2 separate regions of the Homo sapiens genome follow, and region 1 is linked to region 2. Evidence: promoter capture Hi-C in human tissues and cell types (Jung and others, 2019). All regions are on one chromosome and are shown on one strand. The core of a region is centred on a gene start or on the middle of the fragment in contact, and the rest is flanking DNA. Distances in the headings are between cores, read along the strand shown. Region 1 holds the start of LOC124907862 (a long non-coding RNA gene). Region 2 holds the start of POU3F3 (POU class 3 homeobox 3).

What was found. The method cuts DNA at HindIII sites, captures the fragments that hold promoters and counts their contacts. A contact is called where the count stands out against the background at its distance.
Region 1: a contact is called between a fragment that was not itself captured here and the fragment with the promoter of POU3F3 in region 2, in 1 of the 25 tissues and cell types used here (IMR-90 fibroblasts).

What each region holds. Positions count from the first base shown.
Region 1 is chr2:103,013,072-103,015,963 of GRCh38, forward strand. It overlaps LOC124907862 (a long non-coding RNA gene), which reads left to right and starts at 505. Exons shown (of 2, transcript XR_007087164.1): 1 at 505-827. The HindIII fragment of the contact is 5,284 bases long and covers 1-2,892 here.
Region 2 is chr2:104,852,667-104,855,931 of GRCh38, forward strand. It overlaps POU3F3 (POU class 3 homeobox 3), which reads left to right and starts at 1,449. Exons shown (of 1, transcript NM_006236.3): 1 at 1,449-3,265. The coding sequence starts at 2,845. It also overlaps a transcript of PANTR1 not described here. RefSeq lists an enhancer at 1,053-1,642. The HindIII fragment of the contact is 12,067 bases long and covers 1-3,265 here.

The sequences.
Region 1 (2,892 bases), core at 14-2,513, 1.8 Mb before region 2:
ACAAATGAATGCAACCAAGCAGTGGAGTTTCTGCCTCTTCCATTTAATTAGAGTTGCCTTTTAGGAATTTAACATTTCATTATATATAAATGAGTACATTTACACATTGTCACTGCCATCTAGGATTTAGTTTTCAAAAACATATTGTTACTGTCCATGGCCTTTTACAATAATGGTGCAATACTGACTACATTGAAGAAAACTGATGTTTTACTAGAAAAAGGATGTAGTTTATGTAGTAGTTATATTAATCATTCTATTTTCTTAGTATAAAAAGCACTTTGCATATTTCAAAACTGCAGATTAAAATGTGGTCTGAAATACGCATATCGTCATTTGAAAGGAAATACAATCTCAAGTTTTAAGTTACATTTTTATTCCAATTGCCTTCAATAAATGTGGCCTCATTATTTGTTTTACTTGTAAAGGTAAATATGGATGTTTTAAAATGAATTTTTTTGTTCTGTTATCTTTGGATAAAGAGGCTTACACTGATTTCAACCAAACAATTCCTCATTGTGAAATAATAATTCTGTCATCAACATGCAGACAGCTTAGTGGTTACACAGCAGCTAGCTATCCTATCCCACCTGCAGGTATCCTTGTCAATGCAACTTTGATTTGTCAGGCAGCTGGTTGAGATCCCTTGAAGTCAAGATGAGCCAGGTCTGGGAGGATTCCTGATGATATCACTTTGTTACCCAAATTTCCTTCCCCGTGGCCAGTGACTGGGTAACAAGTGAGCATGGGACAGTGCGGATGATTTGAACTCAAGACGAGATCCACTAGAAGCATGAAGGAACAAATGGTGGTGTGCCAGGAGACAGGTGGGAGGAAGGTTCCCTTCCTGATAAAAAGACAAAATGTCTCCACACAAAACCACTTTGTCTTCCTGTCTGTCTCCTTCTTTTGTTGTTGAGCATGTATGCACTGCTGGGCATGCAGCTTGCCCTGTTCTGTGGGCTCCCAGTGGCATCAGGAGGCTGACAAACTTGTGCCAGCACCTACATTCCACTGGGCTCATCAAGGCGAGAACTAAGCTCCTGGCTGTTTAGCCTGCTCTTCTTTTCTTGTTACTTGCACCCAATGTAGCCTAACTACTACAATCAGTAGGAGATAATACGATACAGAAATGGAGCTAGATGGCATCTGCAATTAACTCCTGCAATGTTGCTGTAGTTTTTAAAAAATTGACTGCTTTGAAGGATAATATTTTTCTAGATATTCTCTTCTATTCTAAAAAATGTGTCATTCTGGGTGGACACAGTTCCTCATGCTTGTAATCCCAGCACTTTGGGATGCCAAAGGGGGAAGATTACTTAAAGCCAGGAGTTTGAGACCAGCCTGGGCAATATAGTGAGGCCTTCTCTCTACTAAAAAGTTAAAAAGAAAATTAGCTGGGTGTGGCGGTGCATGCCTCTAGTCCTATCTACTTAGGAGGCTGAGCAGAGAGATTTACTTGAGCCCAGGAGTTTAAGGTTGCAGTGAGCCATGATCGCGCCACTCTGTTCCAGCCTGGGTGACAGAGTGAGACCCTTTCAAAAAAGGAAAAGTGTCATTCTGAAATTTGAGTTGCTACCTCCTGTGTTAATTCCAATTTAACTTATTAGGGGAAAATGCTTTATTGCTTTATTTGTCAAAGAAAGCAGAACCACAATGACACAATGATTAAAATGCCTTTGAGGAACAGAACCACTTGTGCCAGACTTTTGCCACCTAGATGTCTTTTTCTTTGAACCCAGATGTTTGGATATTCCCCCAAATCTTCATAACTACTGGGGTAATCCTGTCCCTTAAGCATTAAATAATAATTCTAGAATATTTATCCCACAAATAGTAGAAATAATATTCCTCTTGGACTGAGGGTGGTGATGTTACATTTAGCGCAGTTACCTCTGGTCTGATCTCTGCCTTCTGCCTTTTGTTCCTATTTCCTTCTCTTCTGCCATTATTTTTCCCAGACATAAAACACCCTCTTTTCTGTTATTACATTTATTCTTTCAACATATACTTTTCAACTTCCAACCGTGTTGAGAAAGATTAATGCTGTGGAGATCAAATGGAACATTGTATGCAAAGTCTCTGGCACGAAGTGTGCCCATGAATACCTTGCTTTCCCTTTCATGACACAATCCTGATTAGGGGCAGAAACCTTGATGTGATAGATCCGAATTTTAATCCCTGTTCCACTGTTTACTACCTGTTAGACCCTCAACTGATTTGTTTTGTCTTTATGAACCTTAATAAAATGGGATCTATCATAATACCTAACACAATAGTTGAAAGGACCAAGTGAGATACTGCAGTAAGATATTTGGCAGATCCATTCTTAATTATTATTGTGGTTTGGATGTTTGTTTTGTTTTGTTTTTCTCCAGTCTCCCTTTGTCATGTGGGTGCTTGGTACCACTCTATACTTTCTTCTCATCCATCCGCTTAGGGATGTCAAAATAGCAGCTAAAATGCAAACTTAACGCAGAATCTATGTAATCCACAGGATGTATATGATTTGTTTTATTAAAGCAAAACTGTTCTAGGTATCAACGATTTCATTTTATTTTGTTTTGTTTTGTTTTGACATGTGGACTAAACACTGCTTTTGATGTTCTTAGTGCTTTTAGGGGCTAGCCTGATAAGGGTTTTGTGTTTGATCTAGGAGCTATCATTTTTTCTGAATCTCATACATGTTTGCACAGAGAGAAATGTTTATACTCTTTATTAGTCCTCTCTTAAGATGCCAGAATTCAATAGGATACAGCAACATGTATTTCTTTTTAAAAAAACTGGAAGGTTTGATGGACTTCAATAAACCTGTTTCTGTTCCTTCGCTAAAAAGAGAAAGTTCTAAATATAATGATTTTTTTCTGGGAGCATTTTATTCATCCTGCCATG
Region 2 (3,265 bases), core at 199-2,698:
TTTGCCCTTGTTTTCGTTGCCACTTTCTCTTTTTTCTTGGTTCGCTGAGGTTCCTCTGTGCAGCGTTTCCGCTTGGCCGCGTCCCCCCACCCCACCCCACCCCACCCCCGCTTCTCTCGCCTACCGGGTGCACTCCCCCTCCCATCCCCCTTAACTCTTTCAGCTGGGTTAGAGCTGAGAAAGCATTTGTCGCCGCCAGCCCCATCCACCACGCAAATCCATCTGAGACAGAAAGGAAAGAAAAAAAAGCACCACCATGCCTAAGAATAGAGAGCGAGCAAACCCCCCCACCGCTAATCACACACACACACACACACACACACACACACACACACGAGGAAGCGGTGGAGCAGAGAAGGGCGCGGCTAGCCGATCCCGGTTCTTTCGCCCGGCTCCTGCTGCCACAGGGAATTCCTAAAGCCATTGGGGTCGAATACACTTACGATGAATCTATGGGGGAAGGTCGGACTGATTGCTTTTCAAATACATCGCACGGCTCCGCTGACCGGCACCCTCCAAACTCACAAGGGCACGCACGCTACTTGCACGAATCCCAGAGGAGGGAGGAGGGAGGAAGGGAGGGAGAGCGAAGGAGGGAGAGAGGGGGTGGAGGAGCCAGGGAGCGGCGGCAGCGAGCGGTCCGTCTCGCACGCGCGGGCACCGCGCTGGTCCTGGGCTGCAGGTTTCCCAGATGATGGCATCCGAGAACTTAAACAAAGGGGGCTGCCGCCGGCGCGCAACGGCTGCGGAAAGTTGCGGTGGCGGATTTCCAAGGAGCGTGGCCACGACCAGAGCTCTTGGCGATGCGAGCCCCCGCTTCCCACCCCCGCCGATCAGAGAAGGGGGCCGGCTGGTGAAGGGAAGAGGAAACTTTGAAACCACTGGGGACACATCTGTCTATAGGTATTAGCTTGAATGGTACATCCGTGCCGCGCGCTTTACAAATCTCTGGCGGGGCGGGGGTAAGGGGGTGAGCAACCCGACGCGTACTAGGTGGGGTGGGCAGGTTGCTATTTTTCATGTTTCCCCCTTCGTTTTCCTTCTGATTCTCTTCCCCCCTCTCGTCCCTCCCTCCCTTTTATCTCCCCTTTCTTCCCCCCGCCCAGACCTATTGCGAACGCCCAGAGCCGCCGAGGGAACGCCAACGTCTGGGCCGGACACTAAGAGTTAAGATGTGGCGGAGGGGGCGGCGGGGGAGGGGCGGGGAGGGGAAAGTGGTGAGGGGGAGGGAGGCTGGAGGACGACAGATTTCCAGCTTCTACGACGCTCTGCCTAAATTAAAAAGCAACCAATCGGAACGGCCGGAAGGGGGGCCTCGCGTCCTGAGCCAGTCATTCCGAGCCTGCCAATCACCCAGCGGGTAGCCAATCAGCGGGGGCCCTGGTGCTCGACTTCCTTGTATTTGGGAAAGTGTGGTGGTGGGTGCGCGCTCGCGGCGGAGGGTAAACATTCGACAGTCCCCGCTCTGAGAGGGAGGGACAGAGAGCGAACTGTCAGATCGGAGCGAGAGCGGGCGCCCGAGAGAGGGAGAGAGAGAGAGGGAGGGAGAGGAAAAGTGAGAGAGGGAAAGAGAGCGCGAACGAGGGCGCAGAGCGAGCTCCTGCTGCAACTCTGCTCCAGCACGGCCAGCGCCAGCGCCCGCCGTCGGTGCACTCTACGAGCCGTGCAGCGTGCCCACTGGAGTTGTTGTGTATCAAGGATCGATCCCCTATATGCACACACACACCTCCACCTCCACCAATGCACTCTTCTTCCTCCTCCTTCTCCAGACAACTGCTGGGAAAAAAATAAAACACCAACCCCAACCGTCAGCAACAAGGTAACAGAGCGATTCGACATCATTTTTTTTCCTGTTCAATTTTTTCCTTGTTATATTTGTTTCCTAATTTCTGCCCAAAAGGAAAGATGTCGCATCAGACTGTGACTGTTGCGAGGAGAATGAAAAAGGACTCTTGTTTCAGAGGCAACCAAGAGCTCCGGCAATAGCAACTTCAGAGAAATGCACCATCGCAAGAAGTTTTCCTAGGACAGAACAAAACTTGAAACGAGAGGACCAGAGGGGGAGAGCAGGAGCCAGCCTCCCCTCTCCGCACTCGCGAGCAGCCAGCAGCACCACGCCTTCAAGGACGAAAAAGTTTTACTACTCTAAGGGAAAACGAGTGAAATGTGTTCCTGAGGAGGAGAGGAGAGGAGAGGAGAGAGCGGACAAGAGAAGGAGCGGGCCGGTTGCTGGTCATCCGTAATTTGGCTAAGGAAGAAAGGAGCAGCTTCTTTCTTTGTTATCTCCCGTGAAACCTTCACTTAGCAGGTGGACGGAGCCCCGCGACCGGGCAGAGTCCGGGCTCGCCCGAGGACAGGAGGAGGAGCGGGAGCCCGCGCGTCCCGGGAGAGCGCCCCGAGTGCAGGTCCCCGCCCCGCCCGGCGAGCCCCGCTGGAGCGAGCCCAGCGCGCCGGGGCTGGGGGGCGGCCACGACCCCCCCTGAAGGGGGTGGCCACGGAGCGCACCCCGAGAAGCGAGCCCCCCTCCCCAGAGCGCTGCTCCTGCGGCTGCTGCTGCTGCTGGTGACCAAGGCCGGCCGGCGACCCCCGCGCCCTGCCGAGCGGCCTTGCAGCTGCAGCCGGGGGCCGCGGCGGCGGCGGCGGCGGCGGGGGCGGAGGCGGCGGCGGAGGAGGAGGCGGCGAAGGCGGCGGGGCCGGCGGGGGCCCGGGGCGGGGGCGGGGAAGGAGGGGGGGAGGAGGCGGGAGGCGGGGGGCGCGGCGGCGGCGGCGGCGGCGGCGGCCGCGGCTGCTGCTGCGGCGGCGGCGGCGGTGGTGGCGGCGGTGGGGTGGCGGGAGCGGAGCGGCATGGCCACGGCGGCTTCTAACCCCTACCTGCCGGGGAACAGCCTGCTCGCGGCCGGCTCTATTGTGCACTCGGACGCGGCAGGGGCTGGCGGCGGCGGGGGTGGCGGCGGCGGCGGCGGCGGGGGCGGCGCAGGGGGCGGGGGCGGCGGCATGCAGCCGGGCAGCGCCGCCGTGACCTCGGGCGCCTACCGGGGGGACCCGTCCTCTGTCAAGATGGTCCAGAGCGACTTCATGCAGGGGGCCATGGCCGCCAGCAACGGCGGCCATATGCTGAGCCACGCGCACCAGTGGGTCACAGCCCTGCCCCACGCCGCCGCCGCCGCCGCCGCTGCCGCCGCCGCCGCCGTGGAGGCGAGCTCGCCGTGGTCGGGCAGCGCCGTGGGCATGGCTGGCAGCCCCCAGCAGCCACCGCAGCCGCCGC